Linked DNA regions of Homo sapiens: all the other regions are linked to region 1. The links are contacts of gene promoters, found by promoter capture Hi-C in blood cells and fetal thymus (Javierre and others, 2016). All regions are on one chromosome and are shown on one strand. The core of a region is centred on a gene start or on the middle of the fragment in contact, and the rest is flanking DNA. Distances in the headings are between cores, read along the strand shown.

Evidence for each region. The method cuts DNA at HindIII sites, captures the fragments that hold promoters and counts their contacts. A CHiCAGO score of 5 or more calls a contact.
Region 2: a contact is called between a fragment that was not itself captured here and the fragment with the promoter of CEP89 in region 1, in 1 of 17 cell types (non-activated CD4 T cells). The highest score is 5.1, in non-activated CD4 T cells.
Region 3: a contact is called between a fragment that was not itself captured here and the fragment with the promoter of CEP89 in region 1, in 1 of 17 cell types (naive CD4 T cells). The highest score is 5.0, in naive CD4 T cells.
Region 4: a fragment that was not itself captured here is called in contact with the fragment with the promoter of CEP89 in region 1 in 1 of 17 cell types (naive CD8 T cells); the score reaches 6.7 in naive CD8 T cells.
Region 5: a fragment that was not itself captured here is called in contact with the fragment with the promoter of CEP89 in region 1 in 1 of 17 cell types (naive CD4 T cells); the score reaches 5.1 in naive CD4 T cells.

What each region holds. Positions count from the first base shown.
Region 1 is chr19:32,969,303-32,973,413 of GRCh38, forward strand. It overlaps CEP89 (centrosomal protein 89), which reads right to left and starts at 2,656. Exons shown (of 19, transcript NM_032816.5): 1 at 2,534-2,656. The coding sequence starts at 2,572. It overlaps FAAP24 (FA core complex associated protein 24), which reads left to right and starts at 2,940. Exons shown (of 5, transcript NM_152266.5): 1 at 2,940-3,044; 2 at 3,882-4,000. The coding sequence starts at 3,895. RefSeq lists enhancers at 2,464-2,683, 3,064-3,113 and a silencer at 2,794-2,923. The HindIII fragment of the contact is 6,189 bases long and covers 1-4,087 here.
Region 2 is chr19:32,776,579-32,780,633 of GRCh38, forward strand. TDRD12 (tudor domain containing 12) reads left to right here. Exons shown (of 33, transcript NM_001366102.1): 11 at 571-651. Among named protein-coding and RNA genes, the nearest start is that of TDRD12, 59 kb to the left of the region's middle. RefSeq lists enhancers at 968-1,017, 2,807-3,617. The HindIII fragment of the contact is 861 bases long and covers 846-1,706 here.
Region 3 is chr19:32,759,504-32,763,422 of GRCh38, forward strand. The region is part of intron 8 of TDRD12 (tudor domain containing 12); the gene reads left to right. Among named protein-coding and RNA genes, the nearest start is that of TDRD12, 42 kb to the left of the region's middle. The HindIII fragment of the contact is 6,121 bases long and covers 1-3,919 here.
Region 4 is chr19:32,733,243-32,737,571 of GRCh38, forward strand. The region is part of intron 2 of TDRD12 (tudor domain containing 12); the gene reads left to right. Among named protein-coding and RNA genes, the nearest start is that of TDRD12, 16 kb to the left of the region's middle. The HindIII fragment of the contact is 201 bases long and covers 2,768-2,968 here.
Region 5 is chr19:32,793,804-32,797,771 of GRCh38, forward strand. It overlaps TDRD12 (tudor domain containing 12), which reads left to right. Exons shown (of 33, transcript NM_001366102.1): 14 at 825-1,010; 15 at 3,932-3,968. Among named protein-coding and RNA genes, the nearest start is that of SLC7A9, 74 kb to the right of the region's middle. The HindIII fragment of the contact is 4,226 bases long and covers 1-3,968 here.

The DNA of each region.
Region 1 (4,111 bases), core at 1,406-3,905:
GACCTCAGCGGGGAAGAAGTGTGTGCTGATTGGGCCATTGGCAGGCCCAGAAAAGGCTCCACGAGTTTCCACTCTGGTCAGAGGGACTGGCAGCCCAGCCCCCAGAATTCAGGCCCTCCCTGGCCTGAGGGTGGGGCCTTACTGGGGACCCCACCCCCTTCCTCCTGCTGCCATTCATGGCTGCAGGTCTTGGCTCCGACTCCCCTCCAAGATCAGAGCAGTTGCTGGAGTGGAGAGAGGCCAGGCAGTGGAAGCAGACACCCCTGAGCCTGCAGGGATGGAGGGTGAAGGGGGCTGTCCTTCCTGGGATGGCCGATGGTGCAGGCTACAGAGATGCCCTCGTCCTGTGCCTGGGGGGGCAGCCACAGCTGCACCTGGGAGCTCCCACCCCGCCAACTTGGAAGAGGCAGGGCTCCCACTTGTCCCTGGCTCCTGCCTGCGCGGCTGCAGCTGCATCTGGAAGGGCAAATTCTGCCTGTTCCCGGCTCCCCCAGGAGCAGAGAGGCTCGGATCCACAGCTGCAGTTTGGGTGGCTGTAGCCCTGCCCAAGAGGGTGGGGCTCCTGCCTGCTCCATAGAGCAGAAGGCCTGGGTCTGCAGCAGCGGTTTGCGGCTCCAGTCCCAACTCATGAGGGACGGGGCTTCCACCGGCTCCATGAAGTGTGCAGCCCTAGCCACACAGCGTGATGGCAGCAGCCACTGCCATCACAAGGACCCAAATTCATTTCTTGCTTCCCCTCCTCTTCCTGCGCAGAGTCCCTGTGCTTCAGCACTCAGCGTGGGCTTCCATTTCCCAAACAGCAAATAATTCATTCTTTTTTAGGCCTTGGTATTTGCTGTCTTCTGCACCCAGAATTCTTTCCTTACTCCCTGCCAGGCCCAGGCCAACTCTCCAGGCTGACGTCACTGCCCTTCTGGTACACACATCAACAGCAGTTCTTGTTTTACCATTGTGTACAGAATTATTTATGGGCTTGTCTATCCTACAGACCGTGTGGCCATAAGCTGTCAGTTGTGGGTATCAGCACACAGCAGGGACTCATTAATGTTTGGGGCTTTAAATAAAAACTCAAGCCAGATGCAGTGGCTCACACCTGTAATCCCAACACTCTGGAGGCCAAGGTGAGAGGATTGCTTGAGCCAAGGTTTAAGACCAGCCTGGGCAGCATACCCAGACCCCATCTCTACCAAAAAAAAAAAATTATGTTTTTTTGAGGCAGAGTCTAGCTTTGTCGCCCAGGCTGGAGTGCAGTGGCACAATCTTGGCTCACTGCAACCTCTGCCTCTCGGGTTTAAGCGATTATCCCACCTCAACCTCCCGTGTAGCTGGGATTACAGGTGCCCACCACCACGCCCGCTAATTTTTGTATTTTTAGTAGAGATGGGTTTTCACCATGTTGGCCAGGCTAATCTTGAACTCCTGACCTCAAATGATCCGCCTGCCTCAGCCTCCCAAAGTGCTGGATTACAGGTGAGAGCCACCTCACGTGGCCTCTACAAAATAATTTTTAAAATTAGCCAGGCATTGAGACTTGGCAGAGTGTGAGGCAAAAAATAAAATAAATAAAAAATACCTAGGTGTGGTGGTGCACACCTGTAGTCCCAGCTACTCAGGAGCCTGAGGCAGGAGGATCACTTGAACCCAAGAGGTTGAAGCCACAGTGAGCTATGATCATGCCACTGTACTCCAGCCTGGGCATCAGGACAAGACCCTGTCTCTAAAACTAAATTAAATAATAAATAAATATAAGAATCCCCTTGGCTGCTACGTGGAGAATGGACCTAGGGGAAGGGCGAGAGTGGAAGCAGAGAAACCAGTGAGGATCTGCCGCAGCAGTCCAGACAGATGCTGGAGGCCGGGGTGTGGGTGGAGATGGGAACAGCTGGCAGATGTATGTAGTGGGTATATCGGATGGGACTTGCTGATGGGGTGTACATGGTGGGTGGAGGAGGGAAAAATGAAGAATGGCTATATCCAGCAGTGCAGCAGGTGTACGTCGTCCAGGAGTTAACTCCGGGCACGGGGACGAATGCTACAGGGGAGGCAGGGTGCTCCTGTCCAACTGTGGCCGACCCTGGGGCAGAAGATTGTTAACGCCGGGCACAGTGGCTCACGCCTGTGATACCAACACTTTAGGAGGCTAAGGAGCTCAAGACCACCATAGGAACATAGCAAGATCCCTGTTTCCACAAAAATATTGAACAATTAGCCGGGAGTAGTGGCGCGCGCCTGTAGTCTCAGCTCCTCGGGAGGCTGGGGTGGGAAGATCGCTTGAGCCCAGGAGTTCGAGGATGCAGTGAGCTATGATCGCACCACTGCACTCTAGCCTGGGCGACAGAGCGAGACCCTGTTTCTTAAAAAAAAAAAAAAAAGTTTAGAACACGAAAAATCAAGGCTTCCTCAACTGAAAACCACTTTCTCTTGTGCCGCCCCCTTGACTGGATCTCAGGCCAAACCCCAACCCGCCCCAACACTTTACCCCTAATTCCCGGCCCCACAGAGCCCCACGCGCGGCGGGCGAGCATCTACTTACGAAATGACTCCTGCGGCCTCTCCGAAATCCCAGGAGCATCCTTGCAGCGCGAGGAGAATGGACCGGGGCCTGGACTCATCAGCAGATCTATCCACAGCCAGGGACCACTCCCTAAAGCCCGCCGCAGGCCCAGCCCTCACGCTTTCTCTTCGCAATGGACTTTGCAGCAACCACGTCGGCCATTGGCTCAGCTCGGCCCTCGACCAATCAGAGCTAAGGTTACTTCCACACCGGTCGTTCTTGGCAACCAGTGGGTACCGTTCAAATCCCCGCCAGGGCGGAAACGTCCGCCCTTATCCGTTCTCTTATTGGTCAGGTTAGACGTCCATTTCTGACGCCACAGCCTATCCGGCGCTGCGGGAGGCGGAGGGCGGGCTGGATGAAGGACTGGGCGAGCACCGAGGGCGTGAACCCGGAAGGTGGCGCGGCCACCAGTAACATGATCTCTAGACTGGGACGGTGGGGTTCCTGCCGGCTGTATTCGGGCCTTGGACTGGACTGAGAAGCTACGGTGCGGATCCAGCTGGGGTATCAGGGGCTAGGCACGTGATGAAAATGAAGGACGCGGACACCAGGACAGGAATCTCCTGGTTCTTAGAGAATTTATTTCGCCACAAATAATTGGCAAACGGGATCTCGCTGTATTGCTCAGGCTGGTCTCGAACTCCTGGGCACAAGCGATCCTCACGCCTCAGCCTTGCCCAATGTTGGGATTACAGACGTGAGCTACCATGCCCAGCCCAGGATTCTTTTAAAACTTAAATCTGATCGTGCCTCTGGCCTTATTGGAATCCAATGCCATTACCACCTCCACCACCACACATCCCGTCTCCAGCCACCCTGGCCTTCATTCAGGCCTTTGTGTTTTCTTTTTCTTTTCTTTTTTTTTTTTTTTTTTGAGACGAGTCTTGCTCTGTCGCCCAGGCTGGAGTGCAGTGGCGCGATCTCGGCTCACTGCAACCTCCGCCTTCCGGATTCAAGCAATTCTCTGCCTCAGCCTCCCAAGTGGCTGGGATTACAGGTGCCCACCACCAAGCCCGGCTAATTTTTTTGTATTTTTAGTAGAGACGCGGTTTCACTATCTTGGCCAGGCTGGTCTTGAACTCCTGACCTTGTGATCCACCCGCCTCGCTCGGCCTCCCAAAGTGCTGGGATTACAGGTGTGAGCCACCGCGCCCAGCCTGTGTTTTCTTATTAGTAATTATAAAGGGAATCTTATTTGACAGTTCTTTGACAAATAATTCAGTTTGCAGAGGGGATCCTGCCCCAGAGGCCCTGGCTTGGAGTGGAATGCAGGGCCGTGTGCAGGAGAGCCTGCTCAAGTGCCGCCTGGCTTTTCCCTCCTTAGGTGGAGACCATCCATGGAAAAGAACCCCCCTGATGATACGGGCCCCGTGCACGTGCCTTTGGGGCATATTGTGGCCAATGAGAAATGGCGCGGGTCACAGCTGGCGCAGGAGATGCAAGGTCGGTGGCCTGCCCTCTGCCAGCCCTTTCCTCCCCTGACATATTAAAAAAAAAAAATCTGCCTATTATTGCCATCTTTTCATCCAAAGCTTATGGAACTCATTTTCTTCT
Region 2 (4,055 bases), core at 26-2,525, 190 kb before region 1:
CAGAGAGAAAAAAGACAAGAAAGTCCTGGTGATTCTGTTTTTCAAGTGTTTGACTTCTCTCCCCTGCTGTTGGGGCCTCATCCAGAATCTCTAGTTGTGATCAGCAGGAGAGAGAGGCTGTGGCAGGCCTACTCCATCCTGTCCAGCACCACCACCAGAAGTGTCAGAAATGACTTTTATACTTAAAGGACTAAGCTCCAGTTCTCACAGAAATGTGCTTATGTAGATAAACCAATTCCTCAGTGGTGCTTCTTAAATTTTTAATCCAGAAAATAAAGATATTTTCAGGATTGGGGTAAAGGGGTTCACAATTTTTCATTTTTTTAAGAGACAGGGTCTTGCTCTTGTTGCCCAGGCTGGAGTGCGGTGGCACAATCACAGCTCACTGCAGTGTCCAACTCTTGAGCTTAGGCGATCCTCCCACCTTGGCCTCCCGAGTTGCTGGGACTATAGGTGCACACCACCATGCCCGGCATTTTTTATTTTTTTATTTTTGTCGAGATGGGGACTCACTGTGTTGCCCAGGCTGCTGTTCACAAATTTTAATGAATTTTTTTTTTTCATTTCTAGTGCTTTAAGTCAGAAGTCAAATGAGAAACCTCTTAGATTGACTGAGAAGAAAGAATATGATGAGAAGAATAGCTGTGTGAAGTAAGAATTTTTTCCTTGGCCTGAATTGTGTATTGAAATAATTATAATAAAATTATAAACAAGAGAAATCTACACATTTTATTATTAATTTCAAACCTGCATTCCCATCAAAAAATAAATGTACAGTATATCTCCTGTAGGGTTTGAGGTTAATTTTTGCTTTTCCATCCACTTGGGCACATTTTTCTGTTTAAAGCTTTGTTCCAGTGTAAGTAGTCATTTTCTACCTTGCCTTCTGGATTCTCTTGGTGAAGTGAACAGTGTCACAAATCAAATTAGATACAGTTGATCTTTTGGGGCTGTTGATGTTCTTTGGGTTGGTCTTTGCTTTCTTTCCAGTTCTCTGAGGCAACACTGCTAGAGAAACTGAGCAGTTTGCCTTGATTTCATACTTGTGTAATCTGTAAAATATTTACATAGCAATTTTCGTTTTGAGACAAGGTCTTCCTCTGTCATTTAGGCTGGAGTGCAGTGGTGCAGTCACAGCTCACTGCAGCTTCGACCTCCTAGGCTCAAGCGATCCTCCCACCTCAGCCTCCCAAGTAGCTGGGACCATAGGCATGCACCACCATAACTGATTTACATATATATATATATATATATATATATATATATATATATATATATATTTTTTTTTTTTTTTTTTTTTTTTTTTTTTTTTTGTAGGACGAGGGTCTCGCTATGTTACCCAGGCTGGTCTCAAAGTCCTGGCCTCAAATGATTCTCCTACCTCTGCCTTTCAGAGTGCTGGGATTGCAGGCATGACCACAGCTTCCAGCCTCATGCCATTTTTATACTTTTTACCATATTGGCCTCAACAGTTTTACATTCCAAGTAACTGTAGCTGCCCTGGAGCTCCCAGAGTGACAAAGTGTGAGACAGGTCAGAGGTGGGGAGGTCCTGCTGTTTCCACTGGTTGGCCTTGGGGGTTGGAGCCAGGGTGTGGACTCTGCAGCCATGTGGGCTTCCCAGCTTCCCAGAGGCCATGCTGATGACCTGCCAGGGCTTCTTACCCCACAGGACACCACCCAGGATTTCAAGGGTGAGGCTTTGAAAGCTTCCACGAGCCCACAGAGTTGGGGATGGCTGTTGATGCACCTAACTGACACCCCCCTCCCAGGGCAACCTCAGCCCTAATACCCAAAGGTTTTGCTGTCACAGTCGTTATTTTCCTTGGAACAGAAGGCCATACAGCTTATTTCTTTCTTTTATTATTTTCAATTATAACCTGGCAAATTAACCCTGGAATATTCTTTTTTTCATTATTTATTTATTTATTTTTTAATTGGAGACGGAATCTTGCTCTGTCACCCAGGATAGAGTGCAATGACATGATCTTGGCTCACTGCAACCTCCACCTCCTGGGTTCAAGCAATTCTCCTGCCTCAGCCTCCTGAGTAGCTGGAATTACAGGCGCCTGCCACCACGTCCAGCTAATTTTTGTATTTTTAGTAGAGATGGGGTTTTGCCATGTTGGCCAGGCTGGTCTCGAACTCATGACCTCAGGTGATCCGCCCACCTTGGCTTCCCAAAGTGCTAGGATTACAGGAGTGAGCCACTGTGCCCGGATGACCCTGGAACATTCTATTCCCTTTTATTTTCGTATTAAAAAGTTCTGTCTTGTCTCCTGTTCTGTTAAAATGCCCTTTACTTAGAACCCACTGATTAAACAACATCAGTTATCCTGTCAGTCTCCTGTGGGTTTCAGGGAACTTTGAGGTAATTCAGGATTAAACATCAAAGAAGGCTTTGAGTTCCTTAGGGACACAGGGATGACCTGGTGATCCTGGGACCCTCCCCCTTGACTGCGCAGAGGTCCAGCATTGGCTGCACTGCGTCCAAAGCCTGGGGAACCCTGTGCTGTCATTTCTGGCGAGATAGCCAAGGCAGCCTGGAGGAGAGGCACCCTTTCCTTAAGGATGGCCAGTCAGAGACCCGCATTGCCGCATCCCCAAACCTCACTTGGGACTATGATAACGACTGTCACAATGTGGGCAGAGGGGCACAGGGACCTTGGCTCATTGCCAGGGGCCAGGTGTCCCACTAGCCTCCTCTGTGTGACACCTGTGGTTTTCTTTTCCTGTCTTTTTGTCTCGCTGATGGAGTTGCTCAAGCCTGTAAGTACCAGTAAGCGGTTGTATTTCTTTCTCCTCGGGCCTGTTCCTTCATATAACTCATTTGGAAACCCCCAAGTTACAGTACATTCTGGAAGAGGTCACCCCAGATGCAGTCTTTCCCATTCCAGGATCACATACCACCAGGATCCCCTTGGGAATCCTGGATACTTGGGTAGCAGAGGAAGTGGCGGGGCCCACACCCAGGTTTAAGGGCTCTCCTAGTGAAATTCTCTCTCTTAATTTTTGGGTGTTCAAGAGAAACTGCTCTGTTTTGCTAAGGGCTTCTGGAGGTGGCAAGGCAGCCTGGATTGGGCTGAGATCGTGTTTCTAAGCTGGTGCCAGCTTCCGCCCAGCCCGTGGAAATATGCTAGGTGGTGGGTGAGTCTCAACTCTGTGTGTTGACCCTCGCAGCATTATTTTCAGGAGGCTTTTGGACTTTGACAATGCAGCCATATGTGCTGCGGGGAGTACTTTCATAACTGGTTAAGATGTCCTGAGCATAGGAGGGTGGAGTGGTACCTGCTTGCCACTCACGTCATCTCTGATATTTAATGTACCCTGGAGCTCTCTCTGCAGTTCTTTGTCTTTCCTTCTTCTGTGTCCCTCTTGCCTACTGTGATATTCATTCTTTATTCTTCTGTTGTCTTCCTTTAAACATTTTAACATCAGCCTACTTTGTACTGCCCACTGATTGAAGATGGAAAATTCTCCGAATATGCCCATTCTTTTTTTCTTTTCTTTTTTTTTTTTTTTTTGAGACAGAGTCTCGCTCTGTAGCCCAGGCTTGAGTGCAGCGGTACAATCTCGCCTTGCTGCAACCTCCGCCTCTCGGGTTCAAGCGATTCTCCTGCCTCAGCCTCCCGAGTAGCTGGGATTACAGGCGCATGCCACCATGCCCAGCTAACTTTTTTGTATTTTTAATAGAGACGGGGTTTCGCCATGATGGCCAGGCTGGTCTCGAACTCCTGACCTCAGGTGATCTGCCTGCCATTAGCTTCCCAAAGTGCTGGGATTACAGGCATGAGCCACTGCACCTGGCCCAAATATGCACATTCTTTGTGATACCATTTCAATGTCAGAGTCTGAACAGCAATGCATGTCGAAGCCTGGACTGAAATGCCCTTCACACAAACTGCTGAGTCCAGGGTCAGACACTGTCCTTCCAGACCCGAGCCCTCTGCCAAAGAACACAGTGAGTGGTGAGAACGCAGCTCTGTTGTACAACCCTTCCTCCTCCCTCTTGAAATCACACCCACACGTCTGTTCTTCCCATGACTCCACTCTCCC
Region 3 (3,919 bases), core at 178-2,677, 210 kb before region 1:
GGCCTCAAAGGAGGCTGCGGCAGGAGAATCACTTGAACCCAGGAGGCAGAGGTTTCAGTGAACCAAGATTGTGCCACTGCACTCCAGCCTGGGCGAGTGAGACTCCGGCTGAAAAATAAACACAATAAAATAAAATATTATAGAGCCTTTCTTTCCAAAGTTTTCCAGACGGTATTTATAAAATTTTTATTTCACAGAAATGGGGTCCTACTATACATACCTCTTTGTAATGTATTTTACTTAGTATATGGCTGAATTCCCTTTCTAGGTCAAATATATCCGGTATAATGTGTTTAAGGACATAAACTCTGATGTGAGACTGCCAGGGTGTCAGGCCGCTTCCTTCTCTGGGACATGGGATGTCATCCCCATCCCCCTGGGAGTTACTGAATGGGCCATCGTGCAGCGTGCTTGGCTCAGCGCCTGGCCTGTGGCAGCCTCAGCGCATGTGGCCCCTGCCCCAGATTCTGATATGCCTCTTGTAGGGGGTCCCCAGGTGAGAATTACAGCAGAAGGTAGCACCTGTTGTTGATGGGCATGTATTCTTTCCATTTATATTCTTTTTCCATTGGAGGAATAAAAATACCAGGCACTACATCATCGTGTTTAATTATTGCGTGGCTTTCCATTGCTTGATATGTCAAAATTATTTTCAGGAGTCCCAGCTTGCTGGGCAGAAATTGTTTCCTGCTTATTACAATCAGTACTGGAATGAACTATGCTTATCTTTGAAAAGGAAAAGGTTATGGTGAACAATAACAAAAAAGATAATGTGAGGTGTAACTGAATTGGCATGTAAAAAGCAGAATTATTAGATGTTACTTTTCTAAGTATAGATTTCCCTTTCCTTTAATTATTGTGAGAAGGTACTTCAGTTATATTTCAGTTAGTTTTTGGTGTTTCTCTTTGAAGTTGCCTAATATTTTTGAGAATCAAAGTATAATACTTGGCTAATACTTGATTTGCTAATACTTGATTAAACAATCACATATTACAGAAGGGCTACAGTGAAAAATAATTTTTTTATTTGCAACCTCTTCTTACCCCAGGATGTCCCCTAGAGATAAACTCACTTTTTAAAGTTGTTTATTTTGGTATTATCTCCAGATTTTAAAATAATTGTGTATATTTTACTATTACTAGGCTTCTTCACTTTAGACATTGTCTTGATTTCTAGGGAGATTCACTCTCGTGCCCCTAACCCACATTCATTCATTCATCAGATATTTATGACGCCCTCACTGTCAGGTGCTTTTCTAGGGATTCTTAGGAGGGAAACAAAGTCTGTGCTTCCATAGAGTTTACATCCATCTTCTCAATAAATTTTTTATTTTACAATAATCACAAACTTACAGAAAAGTTGGAGAGTATTACAAAGAACTTTTTTCCCAAACCATTTGAGAATAAGTTGCTAACCTGATTCCCCAATACTTGAGTTTTTCCTAGAAAGAAGGACATTCTCAAAAATATCCACAATGCAATCATCAGAGTGTGAAGATTAACACTGATATATTGTGATCATATAACTCCCAGGCACCATTCAGGTTTTGCTGGTTATCAAAGAGACGTCGTTCAGCATCACTTGTTGCATTTAGAGAAGACGTTTCTTGTTTTTGTTTTGTTTAGTTTTTGAGACGGAGTCTCACTCTGTCTCCCAGGCTGGAGTGCAGTGGCACATCTCAGCTCACTGCAAGCTCCACCTCCCAGGTTCACACTATTCTCCTGCCTCAGCCTCCCAAGTAGCTGGGACTACAGGCGCCCGCCACCAAGCCCAGCTAATTTTTTATTTTTTTATTTTTTGTATTTTTAGTAGAGACGGGGTTTCACCGTGTTAGCCAGGATGGTCTCGATCTCCTGACCTCGTGATCCGCCCGCCTCGGCCTCCCAAAGTGCTGGGATTACAGGCATGAGCTACTGCGCCTGGCCGAGAACACATTTCTTTAGTCTTTCCTCTGGAACATTTCCTGGGTCTCCTTGATTTTCATGACCTTGCACTTTGGAAGATTACAGACCTATTATTTTGTAGAATGTGTTCTGGATTTTGGTCATTCTAATAGGGGTGTAGTGGAATATCATTATTTTAATTTGCATTTCTCTAATGACGTAGGATGTGAGCATCTTTTCATATGCTTATTTGCTGTTGGTATATCTTCTCAGATGAGATATCTCTTCAGGAGTTCCTTATTTATTTATTTATTTATTTAGAGATGGAGTCTTGTGCTGTCACCTAGGCTGGAGTGCAGTGGTGTGATCTCAGCTCATGGCAACCTCTGCCTCCCAGGTTCAAGCCTCCTGCCTGAGCCCCGCGAGTAGCTGGGATTACAGGTGCCCGCCACCATGCCTGGCTAATTTTTGTATTTTTAGTAGAGACGGGGTTTCACCATGTTGGCCAGGCTGGTCTTGAACTCATGAGCTCAAGTGATCCACCCACCTCAAATGATCCGACTGCCTCGGCCTCCCAAAGTGCGGGGATTACAGGCATGAGCCACCCACCATGTCCGGCAAGGATTTGGCTATTTTAAATTGACTTTTTTGTCCTCTTAGTGTTGAGTTTTAGGAGTCCTTTGTACATTTTGGATAACAATCCTTTTTTTACATGTGTCCTTTGCAAACATTTCCTCCTAGTGTGTGGCTTGTCTCTCATTCTCTTGACAATATCTTTCACAGAGCAGAAATGTTTAGTTTTAATGAAGTCCAGCTGATCAGTTGCTTCTTTCATGGATTGTGCCTTTGGTGTTGTCTCTAAAAAGCCATTGCCATACTCAGGGTCATCTAGGTTTTCTCCTATGTTATTTTCTAGGAGTTTTGTATTTTGCATTTTTCATTTAGATCCATTTGAGTTGATTTTTGTGAAGGGTGTAAGGTCTGTGCCTAGAGTCACTTTTCTGCATGTGGATGTTGAGTTGTTCCAGCACCATTTGTTGAAAAGAGAAGGTTGGGAGTTTTATTAGAGAAATCTTACATATTGTTTTGAAAGGAAGCTCATTGACGCTAGAGAAGTTTTTGGGAGCTGGCAAGCTCTGATTGGTAGGTAATGGCGGTAGGAAAAACTAGTCTTAAAGTCATGGCAGGTTATTTCAGTAGCTACCAGGTAAAACTGGTGTTGGGATTCTAGCAGTGCACCTCAACAGCGGGGCCAAGAAGGTGCTCTGTGCCTCGAGTACTTTTCCTCTGGCCCCTCGACTCTGATTTAGTTGGAGATGAAAGAATGACCTAGTTTGTATAATTAACTTTCACAGGACCATTGGGTTTAAAGTGATTATTTATATACAGTCATGTGTTGCTTACTGATGGACTATGTTCTGAGAAACACGTCATTAGGTGATTTTGGTGTGCAAACATCATAGGGTGTACTTACCCAACCTACATGGTGCAGCCTACTACACATATAGGCAATATGGTATAGCCTATGGCTCCTAGGCCACAAACCTGTACAGTATGTTACTGTATTGAATGCTGTAGGCAGCTGTAACACAATGGTAACTATTTGTGTTATCTAAACCAATTTAAACGTAGAAAAGATAGTGATTATGCTATGATGTTGCTAGGCAATAGGAATTTTTCATCTTCATTAAAATCTTATGAGACCACCATCGTATATGTGGTCTATTGCTGATGGAAGGTTGGCATACGGCACGTGACTGGAGTTGGATTACTGTCTGCCATGTTTATTACTGTATTTGATTTATTGCCCTTGTTTTTTTGTTCCTCTTTTGACTTTGCTCTTTTTCTACCATTTGTGATTTTAATTGGGCATTTTGATACCATATAAATGGTAGGAGGGGTGGAGAGAGGGAAATAAATGTCTAGAGCCCTGTAATTAGAGTCAGTCTTCTAGGGAGCCTGTACCTTTGGGCTGCACGCTTCTCAGGTGCCCCTCAGCATCCCTCACCTCTCACCTTATGTGGGACAGGATGGC
Region 4 (4,329 bases), core at 1,618-4,117, 240 kb before region 1:
TGGATCACCTGAGGTCAGGAGTTCGAGACCAGCCTGGCCAACATAGTGAAACCCCATCTCTACTAAAAATACAAAAAATTAGCTGGGCGTGGTGGCAGGCACCTGTAATCCCAGCTACTAGAGAGGCTGAGGCAAGAGAATCACTTGAACCTGGGAGGCGGAGGCTTCAGTGAGCCGAGATCACGCCATTGCACTCCAGCCTAGGCAACAAGAGTGAAACTCTGTCTCAAAAAAAAAAAAAATGTATATGTGTGTGTGTATGTGTATAGTTAAATATAAAGCTTTGGGTAGATTTAAGGTTGCTTCTGTTTTTCAAGAATAGGTGTACTGTGAACTTCATGTGAACTTCATGTTGAATTGAGAGATGATGTTTTCAGTGATGCTGAGATTGACCAGAGGGGACATCCTGACCCTCCTTGTGGCCTTACCTGTCAGCATTCATGTGATGGCTTCTCCATTCAGTGACCACTGCTGCCTGAATCAGCTCTTTTATTCAGGCACTCGATGTGGGGTTTTCTCTCATTCCTTCTGCATTCATCAGCTGGAATTCTTCTGTTATAGAACTTTCCCTGATCTCTTAAGACTGTTTGATTACCCTGAAATAACACTGTTCCTTTTTTAAATTTTTTTAATTTATTTTTTTAATTAATTAATTTTTTTTTTTTTTGAGACAGAGTCTTGTTCTGTTGCCCAGGCTAGAGTACAGTGGCGCCATCTCTGCTCACTGGAAGCCCCACCTCCCGGGTTCACGCCGTTCTCCCGCCTTAGCCTCCCGAGTAGCTGGGACTACAGGCACCTGCCACCATGCCCGGCTAATTTCGTTTTTGTATTTTTAGTAGAGATGGGATTTCACCCTGGTAGCCAGGATGGTCTTGATCTCCTGACTTCATGATCCACCCGTCTCAGCCTCCCAAAGTGCTGGGATTACAGGCGTGAGCCACCGCGCCTGGCCTTTTTAAAAATTTTTTAAATCAGAAGGCCTATGAATGCAAATAATACAGTTCATACTGCAAAGAAAGAGAAATTGTGTGGATCAGTTTTCAACTTAGTGCTTTGTGCCTAGTTATCACATTTTTGGTGTCGAGAGGGTGGTTTTGTTTTTCTCTCCTCCTCCTCCTTTTCTTTTCTTTTCTTTTTTTTTTTTGAAGATGGGGGTCTCACTCTGTCACCCAGGCTGGAGTGCAGTGACTCTATCTCGGCTCACTGCAACCTCCGCCTTTTGGTATCGAGCAATCCTCCCACCTCAGCCTCCCAAGTGGCTAGGACTAAAGGCATGCACCACCACACCTGGCTAATTTTTTTGTATTTTTTGTGGTGACAGGGTTTCGCCATGTTGCCCAGGCTGGTCACGAACTCCTGGGCTCAAGAGATCTGCCCGCCTTGGCCTCCCAAAACGCTGGGATTACAGGCATGAATCACTGCGCCTGGCCCTTTACACTTTTAAGTACAAACAGACCTCATTTTATTGTGAATTCGCAGTAACTATGTTTTTTTACAAATTGAAGGTTTATGGCAACCCTTCATGGAGCAAGACTATAGGCACCATTTTTCCCACAGCAGGTCCTCACTTCATGTCTCTGTGTCACATCTTGGTAATTCTCCCAGTGTTTCGAACTTTTTTGTTATTATTCTATCTGTTATAGTGATCTGTGGCCAGTGATCTTTGAGGTTAGTATTTTAATTGTTTTGGGGTGCCACGAATTGCACCCATGTAAGATAGTGAATTTTATCAATAAATGTGTGTTCTGACTGCTCCACCATCTCTCTCCCTCTCCCCAGGCCTTCCTGTTCACTGACACACAATTGAAATTAGGCCAATTAATAACCCTACAATGGCCCCTAAGTGTTCAAGTGAAAGGATGAATCACATTAAATTAAAAGCTAGAAATGATTGAACTTAGAGGAAGACATTTTGAAAGCTGAGATAGGCTGAAAGCTAGGCCTCTTGCACCAAACAGTTAGCAAAGTTGTGAATGCAAAGGAAAAGTTCTTGAAGGAAATTAAAAGTGCCACTCTGGAGAACACACAAATGAAAAAAAAAATGAAAAAAGAAGCAGCCTTATTGGTAATATGGAGAAAGTTTTATTGGTCAGGATAGAGGCTTAGAACCAGTTACTACATTCCCTTCAGCCAAAGCCTGATCCAGAGCAAGGCCCTAACTCTCTTCAATTGTATAAAGGCTGAGCAAGGTTAGGAAGCTGCAGGGAAAAAATGTGAAGCTAGCGGAGGTTGGTTCATGAGGTTTAAGAAAAGAGGCCATCTCCACAACATAAAGTGCAAGGTGAAGCACAAGGGCTGATGGAGAGGCTGCAGCAGTTTCTCCAGATGTAGCTATGATCATTGTTGAAAGTGGACACACTAAATAAGAGGTTTTCAATGTATACAAGACAGCCTTCTATTGGAGAAGATGTCTTCTAGGACTTCCAGAGCTAAATAGGAGAAGTCAGCCAGGTGTGGTGGCTCACACCTGTAATCCCAGCACTCTGGGAGGCTGAGGTGGGTGGATCACCTAAGGTCAGGAGTTCGAGACCAGCCTGGCCAACATGGTGAAACCCTGTCTCTACTAAAAATACAAAAATTAGCCAGGTGTGGTGGCGGACACCTGTAATCCCAGCTACTGGGGAGGCTGAGGCAGGAGAATTGCTTGAACCCGGGAGGTGGAGGCTGCAGTGAGCTGAGATGGCACCACTGCACTCCAGCCTGGGTGACAGAGAGAGACTCCATCTTAAAAAATAAATAGGAGAAGTCGGTGTCTTTAAAGGACTAAAGCTTTAAAGGTCAGAGTGGCTTTCTTTTTAGGGGCTAATGCAGCTGGTGACTTTTAAGTTGAAGCCAGTACTCATTTACCATTCCAAAAGTCCTGTGACCCTTAAAGATTATGCTAGCTCTACTCTATCTGCTCTACGAATGGAACAAGAAAGCCTGAATGACAGCACATCTGTTCACGCATGGCTTACTGAATATTTTAAGCTTACTGTTGAGATCTATGCTCAGAAAAAAAGATTCCTTTCAAAATATTACTGCTGAGCTGGGTATGGTGGCACGTGTCCACAGTCCCAGCTACTTGGGAGGCTGAAGCAGGAAGATCACTTGGGCCCAGGAGTTTGAGTCCAGCCTAGGCAATGTAGTGATGAGACCCTGTCTCTAAAACAAAAAACAACAAACAATTAGTGCTCATTGACAGTGCACCTGGTCACTGAAGAGCTCTCATGGAGATATATGAGATGAATGTGGCTTTCATGCCTCATTTTGAAGGTTGGCTGGCTGTGTGAATTATTAACTATTCATGGTATTTCTACAAGATGCTTTGACTTCAGCATTAAATAGAAATACCCTTCATCCTTTGTCAGGATTTCTGTTGAATTATTCGAGTTTTGAGTTATGTGAGGTTCTCTAGAACCTGTGCCTTGCAGTATGGCTGTACTGTATTTTCCAACTTATTCCCAAGGACAGCAATCTCTATCAGTCCCCTTCCTTTCTGTCTGAGCGCAGCTCTCCTGCTGGACTGCTTTATAAACCTGTGGTTAGCATACGGTTTATTAGTTGAGTTGGCTGTGGCCTGGCAGTCCTGTGGTACAGTCAGGATGCCAAGGGTTGTCACCTCTGCAGGGTGGTTCTCCTTAAAAGGGGCTGCAGGCATTTACAGATGCTTCTTAACTTACGATGAGGTTATGTCCTGATAATTGTAGGTAAAAAATGGGCTTAGTACACCTAACCTGCTGACCAGCCTAGCTTACCCTAGCCTACTTAAATTTGCTCAGGACACTTAACATTAGCTTATGGTTGGGCAAGATCACCTAATACAAAGCCTATTTTGTAGTAAAGTTTAAATATTTATGTATTTTATTGAATACTGCACATTATGTAAAAATTGCAATAGTTTCACACCATCATAATGTTGAAAATTGTAAGTTAAACCATCATAAGTCAGGGACTGTGCACTTATTCAGCCATCAAACAGGCAGTTTATTGATTGATTGAGACAAACTCTCATTCTGTCGCCCAGGCTGGAGTGTAGTGGCGCGATCTTTGGCTCACTGCAACCTCTGCCTCCCTGGCTCAAGTGATCCTCCTGCCTCAGCCTCCTGAGTAGCTGGGACTACAGGCACATGCCACCATCCCTGGCTGATTTTTGTGTTTTTAGTAGAGACGGGGTTTTTCCATGTTGGTCAGGCTGCTCTTGAACTCCTGAGCTCAGGTGATCCACTCACCTCGACCTCCCAAAGTGCTGGGACCACAGGCGTGAACCACCATGCCTGGCCCAGGTAGTTTATTTTTAAAACATTTTATTACTGTTATTTTTTTGAGACAGGGTCTCACTGTGTCACC
Region 5 (3,968 bases), core at 711-3,210, 180 kb before region 1:
TTTTTTTTGAGTCGGAGTTTTGCTCTTGTTGCCCAGGCTGGAGTGCAATGGCATGATCTCGGCTCACCACAACCTGTGCCTCCCGGGTTCAAGTCATTCTCCTGCCTCAGCCTCCTATGTAGCTAGGATTACAGGTGCCTGACACCACGCCCGGCTAATTTTCTATTTTTAGTAGAGACGGGGTTTCTGCATCTTGGTCAGGCTGGTCTTGAACTCCCGACCTCAGGTGATCTGCTCGCCTTGACCTCCTAAAGTGCAGGGATTACAGACATGAGCCACTGTGCCTGGCTTTTTTTTTTTTTTTTTTTTTTTTTTTTTTTGAGATGGAGTCTCGCTCTGTCACCCAGGCTGGAGTGCAGTGGCACAGTCTTGGCTTACCGCATCCTCTGCCTCCTGTGTTCAAGTGATTCTCCTGCCGCAGCCTCCAGAGTAGCTGGGATTATAGGCATGCACCACCACACCTGGCTAATTTTGTATTTTTGGTAGAGATGGGGTTTCACCATGTTGGCCAGGCTGGTCTCGGACTCCTGACCTCAGGTGATCCACCCACCTCGGCCTCCCAAAGTGCTGGGATTACAGGCATGAGCCACCGTGCCCTGCCTAGCAAGAATCTTTTAATGGGAGTCTTAATAGGAGAAAAAGCAACAGTCTTTTAATAGGAGGTTGGTACTGAGAAAAGATTTGGGGAAACTTAACAAGTTAGGGCTTGGAAAATACTGGGTTTGGCAATGTGTAGTGCTTTTTGGGGTGAAATGAGCCATGCAATGGAGTTTTTGTTAGTTTTCTCTACCTTATTTTGGTTTCTGGTTGTTTCTGTTTTGTAGGCTCTTCAAAGAAATAAGTTTCCGGGCCCCAGCCACACTGAATCTTACTCTTGGCCTCCCATAGCGCGTGGCTGTGATGTGGTTGTCATTTCTCACTGTGAAAGCAACCCTTTGCTCTACCTCCTACCAGTGTTGACAGTTTTGCAAACAGGAGCCTGCTACAAGTCATTACCAAGTAGAAATGGAGTAAGTCAAAGACAGTTTTGCCTCACAACCAAATGGGTTAAATATTTATTTTAAAATTATACACCTCACCTTTGAGGAAGGTCGTCTATTACTCAGTTTGGTTTTCAAACTTCCAGGCCAGAAACTGTCCTGTGGGAAAGTGTCCTTTCCCATTCCAATTACTGATGCTCTCATACTGATTCTCACCTGGAGCCTATAGTTGTGGGCCATTGGCTGAGGCTTTTAGAAATGGATATGGAGGCCAGGCACGGTGGCTCACGCCTGTAATCCCAGCACTTTGGGAGGCCGAGGCGAGTGGATCATCTGAGGTCAGGAGTTCGAGACCAGCCTGGCCAACATGGTGAAACCCTGTCTCTACTAAAAACAGAAAAATTAGGTGGGCATGGTGGCATGCCTGTAATCCCAGCTACTTGGGAGGCTGAGGCAGGAGAATCACTTGAACCTGGGAGGCGAAGGTTGCAGTGAGCCGAGATTATACCATTGTGTTCCAGCCTGGACAATAAGAGCAAAACTCCATCTCAGAAAAAAAAAAAAAAAAAGAAAGAAAAAGAAAAAATGGATATCGAGTGTGTAAAATGCTGTCACAGACCTGAGTCTATCTATCCATCACAGTAGCAGCATGAGATGGGCATTGTTCTGACCATTTCACGGAGGAGAAAATGAGGCTCAGGAAGAGTTACTGGGGTAAATTTCCCACTGACAGGGCTAGGAGTGGGGTTGAAGTCTGAGCTTCTGCTGCCTTGTCCCGTGCTCTGCCAGTCATTTCCTAGCTCCCCACCCTGCTTCATAATCCTTCTTAACTTTTCCCATGTGGGAAAACCTCAGAATAACTGTATTAAGTCTGTTCTAGCATTGCTATAAATACCTGAGGCTGGGTAATTTATAAAGAAGAGAGGCTTAACTGGCTCATGGTTCTGCAGGCTGGAGCGGAAGCATGATGCTGGCATCTGCTCGGCTTCTGCGGAAGCCTCAGGAAACTCACAATCATTGCAGAAGTCTAAGGGGGAGCAAGTGTGACACATGGCTGGAGCAGGAGCAGGAGCAGGGGAGGTGCCACATACCTTTAAACACTAGATCTCAGAAGAACAGCACCAAGAGGACAGTGCTAACCCATTCATGAGAAACTGCCCCCATGAGCCAATCACCCCCCACCAGCCCCCACCTCCAACACTGGGGATTACATTTAACATGAGATTTGGGTGGGGATGCAGAGCTAAACCATTTCACTGAGAAAGAGGTGGTGGGAAAGAGAGGAGCGGTGTGAAGGTAAATGATGCAGGGCATGGCCCTGTGCTGCTGGTTTGTGGCTGTTAGGGGCCTGATGGGTGTGGAACCTGCATCTCGGGGCCTGGCACTGAGGGTGCTCCAGACGGGGCTCCACCAGTGAAAAACAGCAGTAAGAAGACATAGGGTTGCAGTTAGGAAAAATACTAGCTCATTTTTCTAACCGTGCCATGCAGTTTTATGATTTCCCTTTAGAAAGTTGCATCTGTTGGCCGGGCGCAGTGGCTCATGCCTGTAATCCAGCACTTTGGGACGCCGAGGCAGGCGGATCACGAGATCGAGATCGAGACTATCCTGGCCAACATGGTGAAACCCTGTCTCTACTAAAAATACAAAAATTAGCTGGGCGTGGTGGCACACGCCTGTAGTTCCAGCTACTCGAGAGGCTGAGGCAGGAGAATCGCTTGAACCTGGGAGGCGGAGGTTGCGGTGAGGCAAGATCGCACCATTGCACTCCAGCCTGGGCAAGAAGAGCCAAACTCCATCTCAAAAAAAAAAAAAAGTTGCATCTGTTATTAGCAGCTGATTTAGTCAAATTAATGGATATGTTTCTATCTCCCAAATTACTTAGCAGCAGACTAATGAGAAGCAACTGATGAGAAGTCGCTTATATTGAGGCCGAACCCAGGCTCAGGGCAGAAGGGGATGTCCAGGTCTCGTCCCTGTGGCCCCCAGCTTTCTCCACGCCTCCATGGTCAGCCTGCTTTCAGGCCTGTGTCTGGAAGCTGGGCCCACCTGGATCTGTATGAATGAAAGAGGAGCCTCAGCTTGTCTTCAGTTACTGGAGGGTGTGTGTCTGGCAGGCAGTGCAGCTTCAGGAGTTACCTGTCGGCTTGCAGAGGGCAGGGTTCAGAAGATAGTGTCCTAAGGAAGAGAGGTTCGTCTTTTTTTTTTTTTTTTTGAGATGGAGTCTCGCTCTGTCACCCAGGCTGGAGTGCAGTGGCTCCATCTCGGCTCACTGCAACCTCTGCCTCCCGGGTTCAAGCAATTCTCCTGTCTCAGCCTCCTGAGTAGCTGGGACTACAGGCACACACTACCACGCCTGGCTAATTTTTGTATTTTTAGTAGAGATGGGGTTTCACCATATTGGTCAGGCTGGTCTCACACTCCTGACCTCGGGTGATCCACCTGACTCAGCCTCCCAAAGTGCTAGGATTACAGGCGTGAGCCACTACACCCAGCCAGGGTTCGTCTTTTTTAAGGCCCCTTTCAGGAGGCATTTAGTTCATTCTTGTGCTTAGGATCTGTGCAGGGGATGTGGAGCCAGACTGCCTGGGTTCAAGTCCTGTTGCTACCATGTATTAGCTGTGCAGCCTTGGGTAACTGACTTCACCTCTCTGTACCTCAAGTTCCTCACCTCTGAAGTGAAGCAGTGACAGCCTCTGCCCCATAAGAGCATCTTAAGAGCTAAATGAATGCATACGTGTGAAGTGCTTCATTGAGACTCAGCAAATATGACTCAATGTGTCTAAATCTGTTTTAATGAAATTATATCGTCACTTTTCTGACCTGTATGATGATTATAGCAGAAACTTACGGGGTGCTGCTTCTGTGCAAGGAGATGTTCTTGATGTTTCATATGGATGCTGAATTCCTAACTACTGTCTGGAGTCATTTGAATTTGTCTGTCTTCGCAGCCTCTCGCAGTCATCGTGTGCCCTGGGTGGAAGAAGG